Linked DNA regions of Homo sapiens: region 1 is linked to region 2. Evidence: promoter capture Hi-C in 16 types of primary human blood cells and fetal thymus (Javierre and others, 2016). All regions are on one chromosome and are shown on one strand. The core of a region is centred on a gene start or on the middle of the fragment in contact, and the rest is flanking DNA. Distances in the headings are between cores, read along the strand shown.

Region 1 (7,017 bases), core at 2,188-4,687, 260 kb after region 2:
TCTGTATCTGCATTCATTTATTCACTAAAAAGATGCTTAGTAAATTGTAAGTATCATGCTAGGCACTGTGAATTCATTGATAAGATATTCTCTCTCTCTCTCTTTTTTTCTTTTGAGATGGAGTCTCTGTCTGTTGCCCAGGCTGGAGTACAGTGGCATGATCTCGTCGGCTCACTGCAGCCTCTGCCTCCCGGGTTCAATCCATTCTCCTGCCTCAGCCTCCCGGGTAGCTGGGATTATAGGCACCCACCACCATGCCTGGCTAATTTTTGTATTTTTAGTAGAGAAGGGGTTTCACCATGCTGACCAGGCTGGTCTTGAACTCCTAACCTCAAGTGATCCACCCGCCTAGGCCTCCCAAAGTGCTGGGATTACAGGCGCGAGCCACCGTGCCCAGCCAATAAGACATTCTCCTGATCTTCAGGAATCCATCAGTGCAATAGGAGAGACAGAACTGCAGATAGTATGGTATAAGTGAAGTGACAGCAACAGGGCTTAGTGACAGCACAGAGCAAAGGATGATTAACTCTATTTCCTTCACTTTCCTGGCCAAAGATAAAATAAATAATCTAAAGTTTTGCTTGGCTAAGGCTCTACAGTTTCTTCTTTTTTCCTAGGTTCTGTTTTCTGGTCTGTTGGCAGGTTTTACCCCTACACAATTGGCATAAAGGATGATTTACATAATGAATAATCTCACTTTCAAGTGAATCCCTTGCCCTTACTCGCAGGAAACAGGTTGTATCTTTCCAGGCCAAGATAATAAGACAGTACGAAATCATTTAGAGTTCTCTGAAAAGCAGACACTAAGAAGGAATTAGGCTAGAGATTTCTTGGAGGAAACGCTTGTGAACAGTAAAGGGGAGAGGAAGCCAGAGTAGGCTAGGAGAAAATTCAGATTGGGGTGCAGGTCTGATACCTTTGAAAAGAGAGTAGGGAGGAAGGAGAATTAAGTAGGATAATCCTCAGACCAGAATGCATCCCTGAGACACTCTTGGGCTGGGCCAAATAGGAAGCCCCAGAGCAGAATGCCTGTTGTAAGAGACCCATGACAGGCGGGAGTAGCCTGGCTCTAGGGTCCTTGCAGTGCTGGATCATTATAGGAGCAGCCTACGAGAGGGTGGCCTCTGGCTGAGTGCTGAGATAGATGTGAAGGTATGGCAGCTGCAGGCTGTCTGCCAGCTACTCTTCTCACAGCAGCTGCTTTTGAAGGGAAATTTGAGGGACATACCTCAATGGCCATCACAAGTGTTTTATAATTTCTCACTAAATATGACATTTATATAACAAATTATATTAATTCATTAACAAAATAATTATTCAGTCATATTTTTATAGCGCAATTATGTTTCCATAGAATATACTATAATGTTGGTATAAAGTGTGAGGCCACATTCATGGAAATCAACCTTATTTTTATGGCCTCATTTCTACTTGAATTCAGGAAGAGATACAAGTACAAACTTGAACCAAAAATAGGTTGAGAATGGAAATGATATCTTTTGAGATGTCATAGCCTTGCTAGTAAATTATTTGTATATTATTAACTGATTGACAAATCAAACTGGAGCATAAGCTTCCTTCAAGGTTATTTCTGGAAGTTCCTGGAATTGTCTTTGGTAAGCTAAAAAATAGTCCTCTTTTATACCACATGACAGCCTCCATGTTTCTTTTCTTTTTTTGAGATGGAGTCTCACTCTGTCACCCAGGCTGGAGTGCAGTGGCGTGATCTCGGCGCACTGCAGCCTTTGCCTCCTGGGTTCCAACGATTCTCCTGCCTCAGCACCCCTGGTAGCTGGGATTACAGGCGCCTGCCACTGCACCCAGCTAATTTTTGTATTTTTAGCAGAGACAGGGTTTCGCCATGTTGGCCAGGATGGTCTCGAACTCCTGACCTCAGGAGATCTGCCCGCCTTGGCCTCTCAAAGTGCTAGGATTACAGGCGTGAGCCACCGCGCCCAGCCCATGTTTCTTGTCTCTCACTCCAACACCCATATTGACATCCCCAGCCTGCTGAGCCACAAAAGTGGTGTCTCATTGTTGCCATCGTTCATGTTCTTAACGTGACCACAGTGGTGTCCAAGGACAAGGAGTTTCTCACAACTTAAACTATTGAGTTGTCAAAGCAGGACTTCCTTTCCTGGAGTTATTGAAGACTGGAATCTTGCTGTGTTTCACGAAGAAATGGAAGAAGGTCCTTTGCCCTGCATTGTCACTGGACACCACAGTGGTGCTGTCTTGTGCTTCTGTGTCTCCAGGAATTCCTTATGAAAATGGTCTTTCAACTTCTACACACAGCACTGCTTTTGGAGAAGTTCAAGCCCAAGTCCATGGAGTAGGCCATGGGATCACTGTTTGAAACAGACGCCATGATATTCTTCTCCACACCCTACCCTGAAAGTTGAGAAGTGAAGACAAATTAGGAAAGTTGGTGGTGCTTCAGGTTCAGAGCAATGAGGGCCTACATGAAGGCAGCGCGGTAATGGGGATGAAAAGGAGGTTAGAAAGATTTACTGGGACTGGGAATTCTAGTGCCAACTTGGTGATGAAGAGGAGGAAATCACTTTTAGATCTGTTGGGTGAGGTAACTGGGCAACATTTGAGTAGAGATATTGAATAAATACATGGGATCAATGCTCAGGAGAAAGGTTGAGACTAAAGTTGACTTGAGAATTGTCACCTTATGTGGTACTTGGCCTGAGAGAGTGTGCAGAGTGAAAACTAAGGAGAACTGAGGATAGATCCTGGAGAAATCCAGGAGTCGATGAAATAGACTGAGGAAGAGGAGTCAGAGAGATTGGAGGACACCTGGAAGGGAGTGGTTGCACCAACACCAAAGAAGGTTTAGGGAAAGGAGCAGGCAGTTCTGTTAAGCATAGCCAAGTTCAAATTAAAGTTAGAAAAGTTGTCTTTTGATTATGGTTACAATGAGTCATGGTGATCTTACTAGGAAAATATTTTCAGTGAGGTAGTGGTTGCAAAATTGTTTTCTTTATGAAAAGGATTGTGCATCTTTTTTGGCCAGGCATGGTGGCTCATGCCTGTAATCCCAGTACTTTGGGAGGCTGAGGTGGGTGGATCACGAGGTCAGGAGTTCAAGACCAGCCTGGCCAAGATGGTGAAACCCCATCTCTACTAAAAATACAAAAATTAGCTGGGCACGGTGGTAGGCGCCTGTAATCCCAGCTACTCCAGCGGCTGAGGCAGAAGAATTGCTTGAACCTGGGCAGCGGAGGTTGCAGTGAGCCAAGATTACGCCACTGCACTCCAGTCTTTCTCAAAAAAAAAAAAAAAAAAAAAAAAAGAAGAAAAGAAAAGAAAAGAAAGAAAAGGATTGTGCATCTTTTTCATTTGGGCCAACTGAATAAGTTGGAAGAGTTGAGAAAAATGCATTGATTACTGGAATTTTTCATGGTAGCTGGAAATAGGGAGATCATGAGGAAATTAAAAAATAGGCATACATTTAATTTTTCATCAAAAGATTCTATTTTATTCTCAAGAAATCTTTCATCAGAACTCCTAGAAAGTTGACTGTCTCACTGTCCTTCCTTTCCTTTTCTTTTCTTTTGAATTTTCTAGCAGAACCATAGAACTAGACATTTTATGTCTTTATTTGATAGTTTTCTCAATGAAGTTATGAAGGCTCTTCTGTTTTTAGGCAGAGCATGCATAGTTTTACTGTGGAACATTGTATTTGATTATGATTTACTAGTTGCCCTCTCAGAACTTCAGTTTTCTCATCTGCAGAAGAAGAGTAATAATTGACATCTTGTAGATAGTTGTGATGATTAAATGAAATAATGTAAGAAAAGCACAGGGCCCCTTTTAACTATACAATAAATGTTAATTACTATGTATAAAAGAATCTACTATTTGAGGGCCTAATGGGATTTTTTCTTTTAAAGGGAGAGATTTAAAGCAATTATATTTCAATCTCTATATAACTGTCAACACCATGAATCTTCCAAAGCGCAAAGAAGTTATTTGCCGAGGATCTGATGACGATTACTCTTTTTGCAGAGCTCTGAAGGGAGGTAAGTATTCAGTTCATATTACTTTTAGAATAGGAAATAATTCTTTATGAAAATGTTATGAAAATTAAATACATTGAAAATGGGAAGTTCCTTTTCTGCTAATAATTCTTTTTCCATCCAAAGTTTTTACTTTAGCAGCTTAAATAACATTTTATAACTATATACTTGAACTGTTAGGATGACACTTACATGATTTGTATTATTAATATTTTTCATAGTAACCCACCAGATTTTCTATACAGTCCTTGGTTTCTTTAGTGACTTCTGCCTTTATGTTCCTCCTTGGAATTATTTACAGAATAATAACATTCAGAAATTAGGACCCTTACAGAGATCTTGCACCAAGGGATAAAAAAATAAAAAATAAAAATGAATAAAAAAAAGGAATTACCACTTTAGAGCTATATTCCAGCTTTTCCATTTACCAGCAATGTGACTTTTGGCATGTTATTAATATTTAACCTTTCTTGGCCTCATTTTCCTCAGCTATAAAATGGGAAAGTAAAACACATCATACATAGTTTTAAGAATTAAATTTGAGAATGTATGTTAAAAAAAAAAGCCTAGTACAGTGTTCAGAATAAGAATCCTTCTTTTGTTATGAATTTTCCAGTCCTGTCATCTTTATAATGAGGGAACTGATGTTTGCAGTGGCTTAGTAATGTGTCCATGGTCATTTGGAGAACTAGTAACAGAGCAGCATCCTAACTCTAAGACATGACTCTCCTACTGTGTCATGCTTTCTCTTTGGAAAAAAAAAATCCCTTAGCAGATTACTGTTTTTTTTTTTAATTGTGCATTTCTTTTACACAATCTCTGTGGAATTACATTGATATTTTACCTGAATCTTCAAAGTTTCTCTTTCTTGAGACCTCAGAGGTGTCAGACTCAAATCAGCTTGTCTACTTCTTCTCTCCCTCCTCCCACTTTCTTCCATAAACATCTATTGAACCTAATTTGAGCAAATCGTGATTTACGTTCTGGTTATCTGAAGTTGAATGGTAGGATCTCCTTCCTCAGAAAGTTACTCTGGGGAAAACTGGATTGCCATATGCAGAAGAATAAAACTGGACCCCTAGCTCTCACCACATACAAAAATCAACTCAAGATGGATGAACAACTTAAGCATAAGATCTGCAATTACAAACATACTAGAAGAAACCTAGGAAAGATTCTTCTGGACATTGGTCTAGGCAAAGAATTTATGACAAAGATCTCAAAAGCACAGGCAATAAAGACAAAAGTAGACAAATGGGATTTAATTACATCAAAAAGCTTCTGCATAGCAAAAGAAATAATCAACGGAGTGAACAGACAACCTGTAGTATATGAGAAAAAATTCGCAAACTATTCATCCAACAGGGGACTAATATTCAGAATGTACAAAGAACTCAAGCAACTCAACAGCAACAACAAAAACAAATAACCCCATTAAAAAGTGGGAAGAGTGGCTAGGCGCAGTGGCTCACGCCTGTAATCCCAGCACTTTGGGATACCAAGGCAGGTGGATCATGAGGTCAGGAGTTCGAGACCAGCCTGGCCAACATAGTGAAACCCCATCTCTACTAAAACTACAAAAATTAGCCAGGTGTGGTGGCATGCGCCTGTAGTCCCAGCTACTTGAGAGGCTGAGGCAGGAGAATCGCTTGAACCCAGGAGGTGGAGGTTGCAGTGAGGCGAGACCATGCCATTGCACTCCAGCCCAGGTGACAGAGTGAGACTCCATCTCAAAAAAAAAAAAAAAAAAAGTGGGAAAAGGACATGAATAGACACTTATAGATACTTTTCAAAAGAACAGATAGAAATGGTCAATAGGTATATTACTAATCATCAGAGAAAAGCAAATTAAAGTTGCAATGAGATATCATCTTACCCCAGCCAGAATGGCTATTCTTAAAAAGACAAAAAGTAACAGATGTTAGCAAGAATATGGAGAAAAAAGAACTCATCCATTTTTGGTGGGAATGTAAATTAGTATAGTCTATGGAAAGCAATATGGAGATTTATCAAAGAACTAAAAATAGAACCACCATTCCATCTAGCAATTTCACTACTAGGTATCTACTCAAAGGAAAAGAAATCAATATATCAAAAAGATACCTGCACTCATATGTTTATTGCACTAGTCACAATAGCAAAGATATGGAATTTACCTAAGTGTCCATCAACAGACAAATGGGTAAATAAAATGTGGTATATTTACACAATGGAATACTATTAAGCCATTAAAAAAATGAAATCATGTATTTTTCAGCAACATGGATGGAACTAGAGGCCATTATCTTAACTGAAACAAACCAGGCACAGAAAGTCAAATATTGCATGTTCCCACTCATAAGTGGGTGCTAAAAAATGTGTACACATGTACTACAGAGTGGAATGATAGTGAAGAGTTGGAAGGGTGAGGGGGTGGATGATGTAAAATTAGTTAATGGGTATATGTTACTTGGGTGATGGGCACCCTAAAAGCCCTGACTTGACCACTACACAACCTATGCAGGTAATGAGATTGCACATGTACCTGGTAAATCAGTATAAATAAATAAATAAAAAAGTCACTCCATTCTGGGAAAGACAGTTATAAGAACAAAATTTATAATAAAATTATGTGTAATTTTATTGTAAATTGATTATAGGTATGAGCCATTGCCATACAATAAAATTATATTTACATATAATTTTTTTGTAAAATTATTGTAAATTTTTTGTAAATTTATTGTAAAAAGGTGTATGTAAATAACATATAGTTCTATTAGCAATAGAACTATATGTTATTGGTTTTAACTATATAATTACTAAATAACTGTGGCAGAAAAACTGGGATAAGTTTTTTTTTTGAGACAAGATCTTATCTTGTGGCTCTGTCACCCAGATTAGAGTGCAGTGGTGCAACCATAGCTCACTGCAGCCTCAAACTCCTGGGCTGAAGTCATCATCTAGTCACAGCCTCCTGAGTAGCAAGGACTACAGGCACAGATCACCATGT
Region 2 (7,358 bases), core at 867-3,366:
TAAGGATCACAATGTATGTAACTTACCCTTAAATGGTCCAGGGGAAAAATATTTTGTGTGTGATAGAGAGCAAATAATAAATACATAAAATGTTAACAGGTGAATCTGAATAAAGGTTACAAAGATTTTCTTTGTATTATTCTTATTCTTGCCATTTGTCTGTAAGCTTGAAATTATTTCCAAATAAAGTTAAAATTTAAAAATTACACAGCATTTTATTTGAAATTAACAATACATACTTGGATTACACAGCAACATTCTTACAAATACAAAACACTGGTTTTTATGGGGAAAAATGCAGTAATTTGTGAGCAAGTATGTACCATATCCTACCAACTTATCATCACTTAGGAATAAATTTCAGACTAGCCTACCATATAATAAAATATGGCAATAGTGACTTGACTTGAAACCATAGCAGGAAAACACAAACACACCAGATAGTTTGGCATAACTGCTTCGCAAATTTAATACAGGCCTGCTGCAAAATGCAGCAATCTACAATTAAAGTGTTATGTGATATCTCTTGTTTGCAGTAAGATACAAACTGAACAATGAAAATCTGGCCATACTACAAAACAGAGATGGAGAGTAAGTCTTGGTTTTGGTAGTTTTATTAAATAAGATTTTTCCACCGCAGCTGAGTTCACAACAGTGTACTTGAATCATCTAAAGAAAGCAAGGACGGGGAAGAAATATCCTGGAGAAATGTTGAAATCTTTTCTCCTCCAAGGTTACTATCACCCTGCCTGTCCATCACAATTTTGATTTCAAGTATTCACGATGCTGGTCTGAAACACAGGATGCATCAGAAGCCAAGTAATGCTCAGCAAAAGTTCACCAAAATTGTGAAAGCAAACATTAAATAAAAAACGTTTTCAATTAACAGTAAAATATCTTTAAAGGATCATCTCTAGCCTTTCTTTCTGCAGGATCCACCCACTTTAAAATCCTTTGGTAAATTCCCAGGTCTACCCTAATTGAATGGTCCCTCTCTATCTGCTCAAGCAGTTCTTAACCCTTTGGAGTGGGGATGGGGGTAAGGGGACATCACAGCAAATATGGACCCTTACCAAAGAAAATTATTCACAAATGCAAAATTCTACACACATTTCCAAAGACTTCCAGAATCCCACGGCCATTACCCCCACCGCCTCCCTAAGAATCCCAGAGTGGCGTGCTTCTCAATGGCCTCTGCGGAGCACCCCCAGCCCCCAAGCCACAGCCCCCGGCTCGACCCCGAAGAGACTAGAGTTCCTGCTCTCACACAGCGGATTCCGTAACTGAGCTTTGTCTCCTCGCCCAACTCCCTTCACCCCGGCAAGGTCACTACCGCCAACTACCCCTTTAAGCCGAGCCATCACGGTAGGAGTTCGTAACAGCCACAGCAGAACTTGCCTGTCATAGGATATATTTTGTCCCCTCGGCCCCACCTACCCTCCCCATTTCGGCAAGTTACGTCTTTACCACTAGCCCATTCTACAGAAATAGCTGCCGCCGCCACCCTCCGGCGCGCCCCGGCCCCGCCGCTCCGCCTCCAGCGCCCCCAGGCCCATTTCCCGCAGACCCTCCCCGGGCCGCCCTCCCCTGCCCTACTCTAGGCGCTCCCTCTCCCTCGCAGCCACACCGTGGCTGCACTCGCCGTCCTCTCTTCCGGCCGCTACCACCCCGGCCCCCTAGAACCCCAGCCTCCCGCGCCCGCAGCCGCGTTCCTGTCTCCCCGACCTCCGCACCCCCACTTGGCCCGGCCTCCTCGCCTTCCTCCCGGCTCCTCCCCTCAGGACACCTGTGTCGTCCCACCCCCTCCACCACACACGCACCCCCCACCCCAATTCCTTCGCCTCCCTGTCCTCCCTCCCCCGCCGGTCTCCCCTCCCCGCTGCTGCCCCGAGAGCCCGATGTGGGAGGGAAGGCGCGGGGGAGGGGAGGCCGCGAAGGGGGCTGCTTTTCTCCGGGTTCCCCGTGCTGCGGAACTGCAGGGCTCCCCAGCGCCCTCTGCCTTCTTCGCCGGCGGCGCGGAAGTCGGGGTCTCCCGGACGCCCCCGATGAGGGTATTTACCTTCTTGCCGGGGACACTTTGCAGACGGCTCCAACATTGGCAAACACTACAGAGAACTGACCCCGCTCGGCCGCCGCCGGCTTCCACCCCTCGGGCTCCCCGCCCCCCGCCTCCGCCCGCCTCCGCCCGCCTCCCCGGCGCTCCCGCCGCGCCCTCCCGCGCTCGCGCCGCGCGCCCCCGCCTGCGCAGCCGCTCCCGCGCCCCAGCACGCCCGGCCGGCGCGCGCGCCCGGCACCGGCTCTACCTCCACTCCGCCTCCCGCCGGCCCGCGACCAAGCGCGGCCATTGTTCGCGACGCAGCTCCCGCCCCCTGGCGGCTGCCGGGCCCCAGCAGCTGCAGGCTCTGCGGGGCTAGCGGCGGCGAGCTGGGCCCCTGGGCGAGGGCCATTCCCGGGGGGCTTGGGCACGCGGGCGAGCGACTGCGCAAGGAGCGCGCCCGGTCCGCAGTCTCCTCGTCCCCGGCGCGACTCCCCGCCCCCTCGTCTGCCAAGGGTGGGCCTGGGGCAGCCCCTTCCACACCTGCAACTCGGCAACTTCCTTCCCCGCCCGACTGACCGTCTGCTCTTTCTGGTCCGCACCCTGTGCTCTGATTCCCCGCTCGTACCTTTCCCAGGCTCTCCGGCTGCCCCTCTGTGCTGTGCAGGGGACGCGCGACCATCCCGCGTCTGCTCCGGCCGCCGCTGTGCAACGCACGGTTTAGCGGATCTTGCACCTTTCTAGACGGGGGAGGGGGCGGGGAGGAGGTTGCTTCACCGTCTCGCCCAGCAAACACCAGGGATCCGTGATCACCTGCTCGCCAAGACCCGCGGCGTGGCCAGACCTCCTCTTCTACCGAAAATATTAGTCACATGAAAAAGAATCCTTGGAGCCAAAAATGAGAACCATTGAAAACAATGCCCTGAATCCTAGATTTATGAGGCAAGAGTGCCAGAAAACAGAAATTACGTCTTAATTCGTCCTGGTTTTGATGTGGATTACTTTTGTCTAGATAACTTCAACCCAGTTAAGCTCAATGAAACTGAACACTTCGTTTAGTAACCGGCACCAAAAATAATCTGACAAAGAAATTTCGAAATAGAACTATTAGTGTGTTTTCACAAACTTACTCGTTTGCAACGTTATTTCTAGGGTTTCTTCCCAGTGTCACTTCTCTGACTGAGAAATGTCTCCCAGGCCGGTGATTTCAGTCATCATCTAAAACCAATCTCATGTCTGCACCTGGGAAGGTAGTGTGTGTCCTGGTTAACCGCAAGGGCGCCAGAGTCAGATAACCAAGGCTGGATATCCGCTTGCTAACTGGTGAGGAGACCACGGGCATGTTACTTATCCTGTGCATCAAGAGGAGACTACATGTGATAGATAGTTCGTATTTAAATGTGACAATACATATGAAGCCCTTTAAATAGGACCGGGTATGTAGTACCTCTCCTGGTACAATGTTAGCTACAGCTATATTTTTCCTCCCAGAACTCTTTCCTATGCTCCTTTCCCCCCTTTTCACCTCTGCCAGTTCCCTCGGATTTAACATGTTGCATCCTCCCTAAATTTGCTGTGCTCCTTCTAGCGGCTTACGCACCCAGTCAGCATTCTAATACAGTCATGCCTTACCTAGCCACAAGGATATGTTCTGAGGAACGTGTCATTAAGCGATTTTTGTTGTTTTGCGCACATCATAGCGTGTTCTTACGCAAACCTAGGTAGTCTAGCCAACTACTTGCTTTGGCTATATGGTATATAGCTATTGCGCCTAGGCTGCAAACCTGTACAGTGTGTTACTGTACTAATACTGTAGGCAATTTTGCAACACAAGGGTATTTGTACCTAAACAGAAAACCTACAGTAAAAGAACTATATAATCTTTTTTTTTTTTGAGACGAAGTCTCGCTCTGTCACCCAGGCTGAAATGCAGTAGCACAATCTCAGCTCACTGCAACCTCCACCTCCCGAGTTCAAGCAATTTTCCTGCCTCAGCCTCCCTGGTAGCTGGGATTACAGGCACATGCCACCACGTCCAGCTAATTTTTGTATTTTTAGTAGAGACGGGGTTTGACCATGTTGGCCACGCTGGTCTCGAACTCTTGACCTCAAGTGATTCCCCGCCGGCCCCCCCCCCCCCCGCCCCTCCCCACCACCTCGGCCTCCCAAAGTGCTGGGATTGCAGGCGCCCGGCTTAAAGAACTGTATAATCTTATGGGACCACCGTTGTATATGCAGTCCACCTGTCCATCATTGACTGAAAGAAGTTGACCAGAAATTGTTGAATATTTTGAATGAATACCTTACTTTCCCACCAGCCATACCAAGGGTCAAGCTGCCTACCTCTGTGTCTTTCCATAGGCTATTCTCTCTCCCTTCAGGCTACCCTTCTCTCGCCTGGTGAACAAATAATCTTTCACGGCATTCAAAAATCACCTTCTTGGCCGGGTGTGGTGGCTCACACCTGTAACCTCAGCACTTCGGGAGGCCGAAGCGGGCAGACCACGAGGTCACGAGTTTGAGACCAGCCTGGCCAACATGGTGAAACTCCATCTCTACTAAAAATACAAAAATTAGCTGGGCGTGGTGGCACACACCTGTAATCCCAGCTACTTGGGAGGCTGAGGCAGGAGAATTGCTTGAACTCGGGAGGCAGAGGTTGCAGTGAGCTGAGTTCGAGCCACTGCACTCTAGCCTGGGCAGCAGAGCAAGACTCCATCTCAAGAAAAAAAAGAAAAAAAATCACCTCCTTGAGAGGCATTCTCTAACACTCCTCTGAGCAGGCGAGTGCTCTTCTCTTGTACCTCTCTTCTCTGATATTGTAGGTATGTTAGAATTTTTTTTTTTAGCCTGTCTGTATCTACCAAACATTGCATTGTTGAAGGGCAGGCTCTGTGTCTCATGCATATCTGTAGTCCCAGCATCCAACAGCAAGTAGGTGGACGGTAAATCCTTTGGTATAAATGGATGAGTTTATACTTTTGGAAAGAACTCTGGGGTGGTCAGATTTCATTCTCTTTGATTCAGATCCTTAAAGTTAATTGAAAACTTTATCCCTCCCGTAACTGTTCCTCATAACTGATTTTCAGTCATTGGTAAACCCCAAATAGAATGAATTTTTCTAAGTCACAATTATCAGAAAGGAAATTGTTTTTTAATTGAATCAGCACTTTCAGTTGCTCAAGGTATATAGTATCAGTACATGAAATCACCTGAGTGACATGGAAATCCACACATCACTCTACAATCATTTTAGGATTTACTTTAAAATAAAATATTTGTATAGGAGTTGAAAATAATGAATATTTAAAGAGCGGTGGGCCAGCCGGCTGTGGTGGCTCACGTCTATAATCCCAGCACTTTGGGAGGCTAGCGTATCACCTGAAGTCAGGAGTTCGAGACCAGCCTGGGCAAAATGGCAAAAACCCCATCTCTACTAAAATTAGAAAAACTACCTGGGCGTGGTGGTGCGTGCTTGTAGTCCCAGCTACTCAGGAGGCTGAGGTGGGAGGATCACTTGAGCCTGGGAGGCAGAGGTTGGAGTGAGCTGAGATCACACTACTGCACTCCAGCCAGGGCCACAAAGAAAGACCCTGTATCAAAAAATATAAATAAATAAAGAACAGTGGGCCTATTAATAGGCAGCTGATTAAAGCAAATGAGGCCAGGCGCAGTGGCTCATGCCTGTAATCCCAGCACTTTGAAAAGCCAAAGAGGGAGGATCTCTTGAAACCAGGGGTTTGAAACCAGCGTGGGCAGTAAAGTGAGACCCCACCTCCATTTAATTAAAAATAAATTTAAAATTAAATTTTTTTTTAAAAAGCGTCTGTTTTATCAACACATTTTTACCAGTCACCATTGCAGTGAAATGTTCAAGCATCAGGAAAAAGATAATGCTTTCAAATTCACCATTATCGGATTTGAGCAGTTTGAATGGGACAGATTCCAGAATCACAAACTCCAGTTTCCTTCTATGTCCTCTTCTTTCTTATATTATATCTTATATTATGATGCCCTTTTCTTGACATTTATTTTCCTGTAAAATTCATCTAGCCCCCAGCACCCACCATAGAAGTTACCCTCCTTTATTGATGATATCTGAATTTTTTTAAATTCTTTTTTTGAGACAGAGTTCTTGCTCTCGCCCAGGTTAGAGTACAGTGGTACAATCTTGGTTCACTGCAACCTCTGCCTGCAGGGTGCAAGCGATTCTCATGCCTCAGCCTTCTGAGTAGCTGGGATTACAGGCATGTGCCATCAGGCTTGGCTAATTTTTGTATTTTTGGTAGAGACAGTTTGTTTTGCCATGTTGCCCAGACTGGTCTTGAACTCCGGGCCTCAAGTTATCTGCCCTCCTCGGCCTCCCAAAGTGCTGGCATTACAGGAATGAGCCACTGCATGGCCCTGAATTTATTTTTATCACTACACACTATTTATGTGTTTCTTCTACTATATCTTAAGCTCCTTGAAGGCAACAACAATGACTTTCTCTTCTTTGTTTCTCTGGGACTTAGCACAGTGCTCACTAAATGCTTGTCAAATGAAGGGATTAGCAAATTTGACCAACATTTACTGAATACCCACTATGGGCCAAGTACTATTCTTGGCCTAGGGATGTGTAGCAACGAAAAAAATCTGCAAAATCTTTGTCCTCATGGAACTTACAGGGGAATGAATGAATAACAAATGCATGAAATAAGCACTTCCAAACACTGTACTTTATTAGAATAGCATTCTGAGGCCGGGCGCGGTGGCTCACGCCTGTAATCCCAGCACTTTAGGAGGCCGAGGCAGGCAGATCATGAGGTCAAGAGATCGAGACTGTCCTGGCCAACATGGTGAAACCCTGTCTCTACCAAAAATACAAAAAAATTAGCCAGGCGTGGTGGCACACGCCTGTAGTCCCAGCTACTTGGGAGGTTGAGGCAAGAGAATCGCTTGAACCCGTGAGGCGGAGTTTGCAGTGAGCTGAGATAGCTCCACTGCACTCCAGCCTGGGCAACAGAGTGAGACTTCGTCTCAAATAAAAAAAAAACATTTTGAAAATTCCCAATATATTTATGTGTTCAGTAATAAAAGTATTGCTTGAAACTCAACTTGTTTTCATAATAATGTCAAAATAATTATTAAGGTATTAGCCACCTAAAACGCTGCTAAAAAACAGTAGAAATATATTTTACAAAGTGGGCTAGGTGCTGTGGCTTGTGCCTGTGACCCCAGCATTTTGAGAGACAGAGGCAGGAGGATCGCTTGAGGCCAGGAGTTCAAGACCAGCCTGGACAACATGGCCAAATCCTGTCTCTACAAAAAATAAAAAATTAGC

The links. The method cuts DNA at HindIII sites, captures the fragments that hold promoters and counts their contacts. A CHiCAGO score of 5 or more calls a contact.
Region 1: a fragment that was not itself captured here is called in contact with the fragment with the promoter of STAU2 in region 2 in 3 of 17 cell types (activated CD4 T cells, neutrophils and non-activated CD4 T cells); the score reaches 9.1 in activated CD4 T cells.

Annotation. Positions count from the first base shown.
Region 1 is chr8:74,006,099-74,013,115 of GRCh38, forward strand. It overlaps LY96 (lymphocyte antigen 96), which reads left to right. Exons shown (of 5, transcript NM_015364.5): 3 at 3,903-4,031. Among named protein-coding and RNA genes, the nearest start is that of LY96, 18 kb to the left of the region's middle. The HindIII fragment of the contact is 3,733 bases long and covers 1,572-5,304 here.
Region 2 is chr8:73,744,724-73,752,081 of GRCh38, forward strand. STAU2 (staufen double-stranded RNA binding protein 2) reads right to left here and starts at 2,117. Exons shown (of 15, transcript NM_001164380.2): 1 at 2,060-2,117. RefSeq lists silencers at 1,520-1,579, 1,690-1,869, 2,160-2,249, 2,330-2,619. The HindIII fragment of the contact is 14,890 bases long and covers 165-7,358 here.